Regions from separate parts of the Homo sapiens genome. Here all the other regions are linked to region 1. The links are contacts of gene promoters, found by promoter capture Hi-C in blood cells and fetal thymus (Javierre and others, 2016). All regions are on one chromosome and are shown on one strand. The core of a region is centred on a gene start or on the middle of the fragment in contact, and the rest is flanking DNA. Distances in the headings are between cores, read along the strand shown.

Evidence for each region. Contacts are between HindIII fragments. The CHiCAGO score rates a contact against its expected background, and 5 or more counts as called.
Region 2: a contact is called between a fragment that was not itself captured here and the fragment with the promoter of GNB5 in region 1, in 9 of 17 cell types (M2 macrophages, total CD8 T cells, naive CD8 T cells and 6 more). The highest score is 7.6, in M2 macrophages.
Region 3: a contact is called between a fragment that was not itself captured here and the fragment with the promoter of GNB5 in region 1, in 4 of 17 cell types (naive B cells, total B cells, activated CD4 T cells and 1 more). The highest score is 5.8, in naive B cells.
Region 4: a contact is called between a fragment that was not itself captured here and the fragment with the promoter of GNB5 in region 1, in 1 of 17 cell types (total B cells). The highest score is 5.7, in total B cells.

The regions. Positions count from the first base shown.
Region 1 is chr15:52,189,973-52,192,672 of GRCh38, reverse strand. GNB5 (G protein subunit beta 5) reads left to right here and starts at 1,281. Exons shown (of 13, transcript NM_016194.4): 1 at 1,281-1,351. It overlaps MYO5C (myosin VC), which reads left to right. Exons shown (of 41, transcript NM_018728.4): 41 at 1-351. The region is part of intron 2 of CERNA1 (competing endogenous lncRNA 1 for miR-4707-5p and miR-4767); the gene reads right to left. RefSeq lists an enhancer at 684-1,183. The HindIII fragment of the contact is 7,593 bases long and covers 1-2,700 here.
Region 2 is chr15:51,909,844-51,912,543 of GRCh38, reverse strand. TMOD3 (tropomodulin 3) reads right to left here. Exons shown (of 10, transcript NM_014547.5): 10 at 1-2,700. Among named protein-coding and RNA genes, the nearest start is that of LEO1, 61 kb to the left of the region's middle. The HindIII fragment of the contact is 959 bases long and covers 875-1,833 here.
Region 3 is chr15:51,889,081-51,891,780 of GRCh38, reverse strand. TMOD3 (tropomodulin 3) reads right to left here. Exons shown (of 10, transcript NM_014547.5): 5 at 2,636-2,700. Among named protein-coding and RNA genes, the nearest start is that of TMOD3, 61 kb to the right of the region's middle. The HindIII fragment of the contact is 1,905 bases long and covers 311-2,215 here.
Region 4 is chr15:52,489,029-52,491,728 of GRCh38, reverse strand. The region is part of intron 1 of MYO5A (myosin VA); the gene reads left to right. Among named protein-coding and RNA genes, the nearest start is that of MYO5A, 39 kb to the left of the region's middle. The HindIII fragment of the contact is 4,333 bases long and covers 1-2,700 here.

The DNA.
Region 1 (2,700 bases), core at 32-2,531:
ATTCCTTGTCCCGGCACACCTTCTCATTCCTTCCTTTCAGAGCCTAAAACCTCATTTGATAAGCACTCCTAGTCTCTGGCCTGTGGATCCAGTGCTATTCTGTCACCAACCTAAGAATCCCAATTGCACCTTCTGTTTCTGACAGTCACAGGTGACAGCTGTGATTCTATAATACAGACTGGTGTCTTAGAGGTAGGAATAATACATGATTATGAAGCATCACCCTGCTAATACATAATAATGTCTTTTTATATTATAAGTGATTGAGTTTAGTTCATTTCAATACATTGTACATGAAAAAATGAAAAGTAGAACTTTGTAATACTTTAATCAATAAAATTAATTACCAAATGAATTGGGTCAGATTCTTTCATTGCGAGGAGATGACATGTCTCTTAAGTGTACAAGTTGTATGCCTTTCTTTACGGTCATACTGAAAGATGCTAGAATCTTTATAGATTCATAATATCTCATTTAAAGTATATTAAAATGTTTAGAGAAGAAGTAAATATGTCATAAGTGCTGGCTTAGGCTGTGTCTCCAGGGCGCTTCCACACTGTCAGAATGAGGGGCTACTTGGCAGAGAATTGGCAGGGTTTCTGATCCTGAGCTGCGGCCTCCATGCCCTTTCTAGACCTTCCCCACACCATGAGGAGCCATCACTGTTGGTTTTCGGCTTCCATAACTCAGGATTTATGCCTGTTTTATAGCACTTACCCTGGACTGGAAGCCAGAAATGCTGCCCATTTCCTCTGTAGGCCTGTGAGCCCCAGAGGGCAGGTGCCACATCCTCCTCATCCCTGCCTTCATCCTACTGCTGATGAGGTGGGAAGAGAACTGAAGGAGCAAAGTCCCGTTGGAGGACTGTGTGTGTGTGGTGGGGAGTCAACCATGGGAAAAAGTAGGTCATGTTTGGGGACAGGGAGACCTGTGGAGGCTGAGGAGTTTATGTGTGGAAAAATGGGGAAAGGGAGGCACTCATCCCACAGTCTTGATCAGTTCTACAAAGCTGACAGTGGCAAGGAGACCAAAATAGAGAAATGTTAAGAACATGTGGCCCAGGTGAATGTGAGGGCTGCTCAGTGAGTGGGCGCAGACACAGAGGTCAAACCTGCCAAGGCCTCCCTCCACAGAGGGGCTGGGCAGGTTCCAGGGGTGAGTGAGGGATGCAGATGGCAGTGCGTGCCCAGCAGGGAGCATGGAAGTGCTGTGGAGGAAGGAAGCAAGCTGAGCAGCACTCCAGAGAAGATAAGGAGATTAGCCAGTGGGAGACGTGCTTCACACCTCAAGCTGCGCGCTGGTCCTCACCTCTCACCATCTGCTCTGTGGCTCCCAGTGCTGACTCTGGAAGGTATGTGCATGCTGACATTCGGTTAAAATACTCCAGCTTTTGAAATGCTCAGAAAAGCATCCAGATGAGTACAGGGCACAGTGTTAGCAGGTCTTTCTGTGCGGTGGGAGCATGGGTGAGGGGTTTTGTTGTTGTTAATCCGTAGAATCTAATTTTTCTACAATACACATGAATTTATTTTGAAATAGTAAATTTCAAATATTTCAAATTGAAATATTTCAATATTTTTTACATTAATATTGGCATCAGGAAAGAGATTAAGCATACTTAAAATCACTAAGTCAGTTTTAAAATTTGATCCAGGTGACACATGGCAACATAAGCCTCTGAGTACAGCTTATGGGGTTAGAAAGAGGTTTTTAGTTGTAAGTCTGAGATACATCCACATTGTGTGTATCAGTTATTTTTTATTCTATGCTCATTTCACAGTTTCGTCTGTGACTGGTGAACATTTGGGTCTTTCAAGTTTAGGCCTTCTATGAATAGCTGCTATGACATTTATGTTTTTTTTTTTTTTTTTTTTTTTTTTTTTTTTTTTTTTTTAAGGAAATAAGCATTATTTTCTGTGGTGTATGTATGCACGAGTAGAATTGCCTGGTCATAGACTATATCCGTTTCACTTTAGTAGCTCCTACCAACCAGTTTTCTACAGTGGTTATACCGACTTATACTCCCACTAGCAGAGAAAGGCAGTTCCAGTCTCTGCATCCTTGCCCACACTTTGTGTTGTCAGGCTTTTTAGGTTTTCTGATGGCTAAGTAGTTGTATCACATCGTAGTTTTACTTTGTATTTCTATGATGACTAATGATAATGAGCACCTTTTTATATGTTTATTGACCATATAAGTATCCTCATTTGTGAAGTGACTACACAAGCCTTTTGTCCATTTTAAAAATAATCTTTGGGCTGGGCGCGGTGGCTCATGCCTGTAATCCCAGCACTTTGGGAGGCTGAGGCGGGCAGATCATGAGGTCAGGAGATTGAGAGCATCCTGGTTAACACGGTGAAACCCCATCTCTACTAAAAATACAAGAAATTAGCCGGGTGAGGTGGCGGGCGCCTGTATTCCCAGATATTTGGGAGGCTGAGGCAGGAGAATGGCATGAACCTGGGAGGCGGAGCTTACAGTGAGCCGAGATTGCGCCACTGCACTCCAACCTGGGCGACAGAGCAAGACTCTGTCTAAAAAAAAAAAAAAAAAAATTTATTGAGATATGATGTCCACGTTTTGTTTCATGTTTTAAAACCCATCATTTTAAAACATATATTTCAGTGTTTTTTAAGTTTATTTACAAGGATTTGCAACCATTGCCACTGACTCCAGAGTATTTTCATCACCCCGAAAAAG
Region 2 (2,700 bases), core at 105-2,604, 280 kb after region 1:
ATTTTATAAAACTTCATAAATGTTGTCATCTTATTTTAATGACAGCAAGAGTTAAATATAACGTACAATATGATATGAGTAACATTTTATAAAAAAAAAAAAATTTTTTTTTTTTTGAGACGGAGTTTCACTCTTGTTGCCCATGCTGGAGTGCAATGGCGCGACCTCAGCTAACTGCAACCTCCGCCTCCCGAGTTCTAGTGATTCTCCTGCCTCAGCCTCCCGAGTAGCTGAGATCACAGGTGTGTGCCACCACGCCTGGCTAATTTTGTATTTTTAGTAGAGACAGGGTTTCTCCATGTTGGTCAGGCTGGTCTCGAACTCCTGACCTCAGGTGATCCGCCCACCTCGGCCTCCCAAAGTGCTAGGATTACAGGCGTGAGCCACCGCACCCGGCCCAAAACATTTTTTAAAATAATTTTTATTATGTCATGGAATCCTCTTTTTAAACAAAAACACAACAGATACTCGGTCAACTGGAAAACAATTTATAGAATTCTATTTACATGTAACTTCTCCAGAGCGAATATCTTATACAAAGCAAGGATGTGGGTTATTTCAATCAAATAACATGAAGTCGCAATTAAATGACCAAGCTAACTCTCCTTGAAGTCTCTAACCATCTGCTAATTTATTTAATACAAAATGCTTATTTGGTCTTTTAAATGACAGGCAACTTTGAAAGTGTATTTCACCTATTCTTGAGAATTCTACTAGGCTTTAGCTACAAGAATATAGCACCAAAATCCATTTTAATAGTATTAATATTTGCCACTAATATTGAGTTTTTAATACATACAATTTCATGTAGGAATACTGGAAAAATTCAGACAAATATGAGTATAACATTTTATAAAATGGGTAATAAAAAGCTTTTTTAAAAATAGCAATTTAAAAACACAAAGAATATTCTTTTAAATAACCACATAAGCTGGTTAGACTACAAAACCTAAGGTCTCAGAAAACCTTTGGCTTAAAAATTAAGACTATTGCAAAACCCTAATCTATTTATTATAAAATTTTAGAGCAATTTAGAAATACTGAAAGTTACTAAGAGGTGCCAGATTTTTAAAGATTGAAGTAAACCCGATTTTTCTCCCTTATAATTTTGGAAAGATTTTGTAAATTCAATTGGATGAATGTTCATATTTAATGTCACTTATGAAGAAATCATTTCTTTCAGTTATACAATGAACTACTATAATGCAGAATTGAAATGGTACAAGCAAAATACTCAACTTCATACTTTGATAAATAATATATGAAAAAGATATTACCCATAAGTATGATGCAAAATTTTAGGTAGAGTCCCACTTACCTATATTAAAAACAAAAACAAAAACAAAACTTAAGGGATGAAGGGGGAACTATTTATCAACTAATTGACTTACAGGACAATGCAAACGAGGATGCCTGACTGAAAGTCTAGGTGACCAATTCTTTCTGGTAGCCTGAGATGCCTGCTCCATGCCTGACTCCCAATCTTGCTGGAACTGTGCAGTCTCTATAAAATCAAGTACAATCAAAAAGCTGCATATGCGGGGAAAAAAAAAGAGAGGAGAAGAGAGGGAGGGAGAGAAATAGGTAAATAGAGAAGGTAGGAAGGGAGAGGGATGGAGGCAAGGGAGGCAAGAAAGCAAGCAAGTGAGCCTTGCTAACTTAGAAAAATATCAGTGGCCTTTAACTGACAGGGAATAGTGCAAAGTTAACCTTTGGCCCCTATAAAACATTGGATACTGATTTAAAAAACAAAACAAAACAAAACCAAAAAACCAAAACAAACCAAAACAAAAAAAAAAAAAGAGAAACACCACAGTTCTTATGAGGGAAGCTTAGCCTGTTAAGAAGGCTTATTACCATAGCACACAAGAAGCTGCCTTGCTTATTAGATAAACTGTCCAGCCCAAGCCAAAGTAGCAGACATATTGCAATTCAATTTCAAAAAGTTTGTTTGTTTGTTTGTTTTTTGAGACAGAGTCTTGCTTTGTCACCCAGACTGCAGTGCAGTGGTACGATCTCAGCTCACTGCAATCTCCATCTCCCAGGTTCAAGCAATTCTCCTGCCTCAGCCTCCTGAGTAGCTGGGATTACAGGTGTGCACCACCACACCCGGCTACTTTTTTGATTTTTAGTAGAGACAGGGTTTCACCATGTTGGCCAGGCTGGTCTTGAACTCCTGACCTTAAGTGATCCACCCACTTTGGCTTCCCAAAAGTGCTGGGATTACAGGCGTGAGCCACTGCGCCCGGCCCAAAAAGTTTAAAAAAAATTAATAATGATTAGCCACCTTGCCTTCCTCAGAAATGAGACTTTTCCCTCCAGAAAAATCTCTGTAAATGATACAGCCAGGCCTGAATTTTGAGGCCAGGGCTACCTCAGATTCCATTCCTCCCTGTTTTCTGCAGCTGTAAATGCCTCTGCCATCTCCTGCTCCAGGGGCTGCCCTGAGACAGAACATGAATACAAGTCCAGACCCTCTACCCAGCATCAGCTCTGCAGTCTCAAATCAGTCTCCCGACCACAGTACTCTATTCAATTGTTCACCTTAATACTTTGAGCAAGAAAGACTGCTTTTATTATAGAAATGACTTTTATAAATATTGATAAAAGTATAAGATGAAAGGAAGCATATACTAAAAATTAGATTTATGAAGAATAGCAGTTTTCCTTCTTGGTTGGAAGATTTGTAGCAGTGATTAA
Region 3 (2,700 bases), core at 14-2,513, 300 kb after region 1:
CAAGGTAGTCTTCAAGATAGCTAGGGAAGAACTTCCTCATTGAATGGAAAATTGAATAGTTCTAATTTTATAAAACCAAAAGATTTCTTTCCCCATTCCACACATCCTGTGGAGTGGGGAAAGATGGAATGGGGAGAGAAATCTTAAGAGCCTTGCCCCTTAATGAAATAATGAATCCAGTCAATGGGATGCAGGAATTATTAAGCAAAAGGTTCATGGGAAACTTAAAAAGGATGGGTCAGGCTGCCTACATTTGAACCCTGTGATCAATCTCATTCCCCCAAAGAGGAAGGATTAGACTTCATAAGCTTCTTAATATGATTCAGTCACCACCCATGAAGCATTCTTGCCAAAAGGGACCTGCACCTGCATCTCATCAAGCCACTAGAACTAACAGTTTACAGAAACATAGGTGATAGAAAAACATAAAATGATACCATAAGGTTGAAATCAGCCAAATCCAGAATGTGGAAAATTCTACGAAAAATAAACCCAGTTTCTTAAAAAATAAATGGCACAGAAAAAAAAAAAAAAAAGGAAAGAGGTTGGGGAGGAGAACTGTTAAGAAATTAAGGGAGACTAAAAAGACAAACAACCAAATGCAGTGTGTAACCTTTTTTGAGCCAATCATGAAACGACATTTTGGAGAGAACAGAGGAAATCTGGACACAGACTGGGTATTACATGATATGAAGAAAATACCGTTAATTTTTAAGTTTGATGATGGCATCATGATTACATTAAAAGAAAAGCCTTTATTTGTGAGACACACATATGGAAATATTTATAGGTATGTAATACAAATGAACAGGGTTTGCTTTAAAATACGTCAAGAAAAAAAAGTAGAAGGGTTAGGAAGGGAGACAGAAGATGAATAAAACAAGGCTGGCAAATGTTAAAAACAGCGGAAACTGGGTAATGAATATATTATTCTCTCTTCTTCTATGTGTGTTTGAACATTTCTACAATAAAAACTTAAAAATGAGAAGGGGGATGGTCAAATTACAAAACATCGTAGAAAGGAATGTTATACACATGTCTGAATGATGTAGATGTATACATATTAACTAGAAAACACGGTCGACTGCTAAGTGATACACTATATAACACGGGTTAAAATCCTTACCACTGACTTTGTGTAAAATATTGAGGTTACCCAATTATTTTAAAATGTCAGCTTTCTCACATGCAAATTAAAAATAATAATATCTATTTCATAGAACTGTTGTCAGGGCTAATAAGAGTACTTCACGTCCAAGAGCTGTGCACACAACATGGCCCACAGTAAGCATTCAAAAACAGTTGGCCAGGCACAGTGGCTCATGCCTGTAATCCCAGCACTTTGGGAGGCTGAGGTGGGCAGATCACCTGAGGTCAGGAGTTCGAGACCAGCCTGGCCAACATCGCAAAACCCCATCTCTACTAAAAAAAAAAAAAAAAAAATTAGCTGGACAAGGTGGCGTGCACCTGTCAAATCCTAGATACTCAGGTGGCTAAGGCAAGAGAAGCGCTTGAACCTGAGAGGCGGAGGTTGCAGTAAGCCAAGATGGTACCACTGCACTCCAGCCTGGGTGACAGAGCAAGACTCCGTTTCCAAAAAAAAAAAAAAAATTAGCTAATAGAATTATTATTGAAAAATTAAGTTGCAATAAATATTTACAGTATAATCGATTTTTTGTAAAAAATAAGAGACTATGTATAATATGTATACATTAGTATAAACAGTGCAAAGCCTGGAAGGGTATATACAAAATTGTTAACAGGGTAGGTGGTGTTTGGGGAAGTAGAGGGCATGATGGCTGGAGACAGAGACACTTTTACCTCTTCCCATAAATACTTATGTACTGTTTAAATGTGCTACAAAGGCATGTATCACCTTGCTAATTTAAGAACACCCTATACATGAATTTATTTTTTGAGATAGGGTCTTGCACTGTTGCCCAGGCTCGAGTGCAGTAGTGTGATCACAGCTCACTGCAGCCTCAAGCTCCTGGGCTCAAGCCATCCTCCCCTCAGCCTCCCAAGTAGCTGAGACTAGAGACATGTGCCACCATGCCCAGCTAATTTTTAAAATTTTTTAGAGATGGGGGTCTACGTTTCCAATGCTGGTCCTGAACTCCTGGACTCAAGCAATCCTCCTGCCTCAGCCTCAGAAAATGAAATTACAGTCATGATCCACCACACCTGGCCCCTATAAATGAGTTTCTGAAAAGCTTTGCTTTAGGCTATATAATACTTCACATCAGACTGAAAGGTTTAGGGGCTGAATAGTTTTGTGGTATCTCCTGAATCTGATTTTATAATGTAATTTCTTTGTAAGTACTGTTATGTATTTCTTGAAAATTAGTAGTAGTGATAATAAAATGTCAACAAAACCAAGTTGGACTAGCTTTTATACTGTTTAGCATTATTTAGTGAGGTAGAGTGGTTCTTATTACATTTGCTGACCCATTAAACACAAAATATTTAATACTCTATTTTCAATGGCTTTCTTGGTTAATACCACCAAACTGAAATGTCAGGTTTCAAGTACATATATATAACATCTAGTATGTGAACACTTAAGCTGACACAAGGCGAAAACAAAATATATTTAATAAAGGATTAGAATTCACAAAGCATTTTAAGTACTCACTTGAAAAATGTTCTTGGTCAACACCATTACTACTTCCCATTATATTACAGAACTTTGTATTCGTT
Region 4 (2,700 bases), core at 86-2,585, 300 kb before region 1:
ATATGCCTTAATTTCCGTTTGATTAATGTTTGCCAAGAACATTGATGTACTTGGATAAAAGGGGATTAAACAGTAAATATCTTTGTTTTTGTTAGCATGAGACAGATCTTCTGACACTTGGAGCCTGACTCATGTTACTTTAGAGAATCCAATAAAAAATACATGGCTTAGTGTTCATTACTTGCTTTTCAGGAGGTAACCCTGGCGGGGATCTCTGAGCAAAAGCTGGCTTTAATTATCTAGAGTTGGTACAGTGTCATTGTGACTAGATATTATGATGTAGGTGGAAATGTGGGGTTTTCTTATTTTTTAAAGACTCTATAAAAACAAAATATTAATAGAAAACATCAGAACCCTACTAAAAATTGTAGACCCCCACATGCATTAATTTTCTATGCAATGAAATCCTTCAGTACCTTAGTAATGAAGTTCTAATTAATGAGTTACTTAAGTCCCTCTTAATTCAACTTGGTAGGAATAATCCAACAGCCAAGGCCCAATGTAGTTATCATCGTAGGTCATCTTTGGAGATGTGCCTTTTTTGAAACAGCTGGATGGTTGGGCGTTTAATAAATATTTAGAATGTAAATGTATACTTAAATTTAAAAAAATTAAATTGTAAAATACACATAACGTAAGTTAACCATCTTAACCATGTGTAAGTGTACAGGTCAGTAATGTTAAGTACATTCATATTGTTGTACAACCAGGCCAGGCATGGTGCTCACACCTATAATCCCAGCACTTTGAGAGGCTGGGGCAGGAGGATCCCTTGAGCGCAGGAGTTCAAGACCAGCTTAGGTAACATAGTGAGACCCCGTCTATACAAAAAATAAAAAAATTAGCTGGATGTGGTGGCTGCACCTCTAGTTATAGCTACTTGGGAGGCTGAGGTGGGAGGATTGCTTGAGCCCAGGAGTTTGAGGTTGCAGTGAGCTGTGATCATCACACCACTGCACTCCAGCCTCGGCAACAGAATGAGACCCTGTCTCAAACAACAACAACAACAACAACATATTGTTGTACAACCAATCTCTAAAACTCTTCATCTTGCAAAACTATATCCCTGTACCCATTAAACAATAACTCCCTATTCCCCACTCCCTCTAGTCCCTGGCAACCATTATTCTACTTTCTCTCCCTATGAATCTGACTACTCTAGGTACCCTATATAAGTGGAATCATATAGTATTTGTCTTTTCATGACTGGCTTATTTCATATGGCGTAATGTCCTCAAGGTTCATCCATGTCGTGACATCTTTCAGAATTTCCTCAAGGTTCATCCATGTCGTGACATCTTTCAGAATTTCCTTCTCTTTTGAGGCCAAATAATATTCTTTTGAGTAAATACACCACATTTTTGTTTAATCTATTCATCCATTGATGGACATGGGTTGCTTCCATCCTTTGGCTATTGTGAAGAATGCTGCTGTGAACATGGGTGTACAAGCATCTCTTTGAGACCTTGCTTTCAAATCTTTTGGATATATAACCAGAAGTGGGATTCCTCGGTTATATAGGAATTATATATTTAATTTTTTGAGGAACCACCATACTGTTTTCCGTACTGGCTGCACCATTTTACATTACCAGGGTGCAGAGGTTCTAATTTCTCCAGGGCACAATCGTTCTAATTTCTCCACATCCTGTCCAACTCTTGTTATTTTCTAGTTTTTTGATAGTAGGTATTCTAATAGGAGTGAAATGGTATCTCATTGTAGGCTTGATTTGCATTTCCCTAATGATTAATGATGTTCAGCATCTTTTCATGTGCCTATTGGCCATTTGTGTATCTTGTTTGGAGAAACGTCTATTCAAAGTCTTTGCTCATTTTAAAATCAGGTTGTTCATCATTGTTGCTGTTCAGCTGTAGAATTCTTTTATTTTTGTTTTAAATTTACTTAGAGACAGGTCTCACTATGTTGCCTAGGCTAGTCTTGAACTCCTGGGCTCAAGCAGTCCTCCTGCCTTGGCCTCCCAAAGTGCTGAGGTTACAGGTGTGAGCCACCATGCACAGCTGAGTTGTAGAATTCTTTATATATTCTGGGTATGAATCTTTTATCAGATATATGATTTGCAAATATTTCCTTTCATTATGTGGGTTTCCTTTTCACTCTGTTGATTGTGCCCTTTGATGCACAGAGGTTGGTTTTTTTTTTTTTTTTTAGACAAAGTCTTGCTCTGTCACCAGGCTGGAGTGCCCTGGCACGATCTTGGCTCACTGCAACCTCTGCCTCCTGGGTTCAAGCAGTTCTCCTGCCTCCGCCTCCCGAGTAGCTGGGACTACAGGTGCGTGCCACCACGCCCGGCTAATTTTTTGTATTTTTAGTAGAGACGGGGTTTCACTGTGTTAATCAGGATGGTCTTGATCTCCTGACCTCGTGATCCGCCCGCCCCGGCCTCCCAAAGTGCTGGGATTACAGGCATGAGCCACCGCGCCCAGCCGATGCAGAGAGGTTTTAAATTTATTTACCTTTTTCTTTTATTGCCTGTGCTCCTGGTGTCAGCTCCAAGAAATCAGTGCCAAATTCAGTATCATGAAGTTTTCCTCCTGTATTTTCTTCTAAGAGTCTTACAGTTTTAGCTCTTAACATTTAGGTCTTTGGTCCATTTTGAGTTAATTTTTCTATGTGGTATAAGGAAGGTTTATCTTCATTCTCTGCAGTTTTACTTTTACACTTTGGTCTAATGGTGCATGT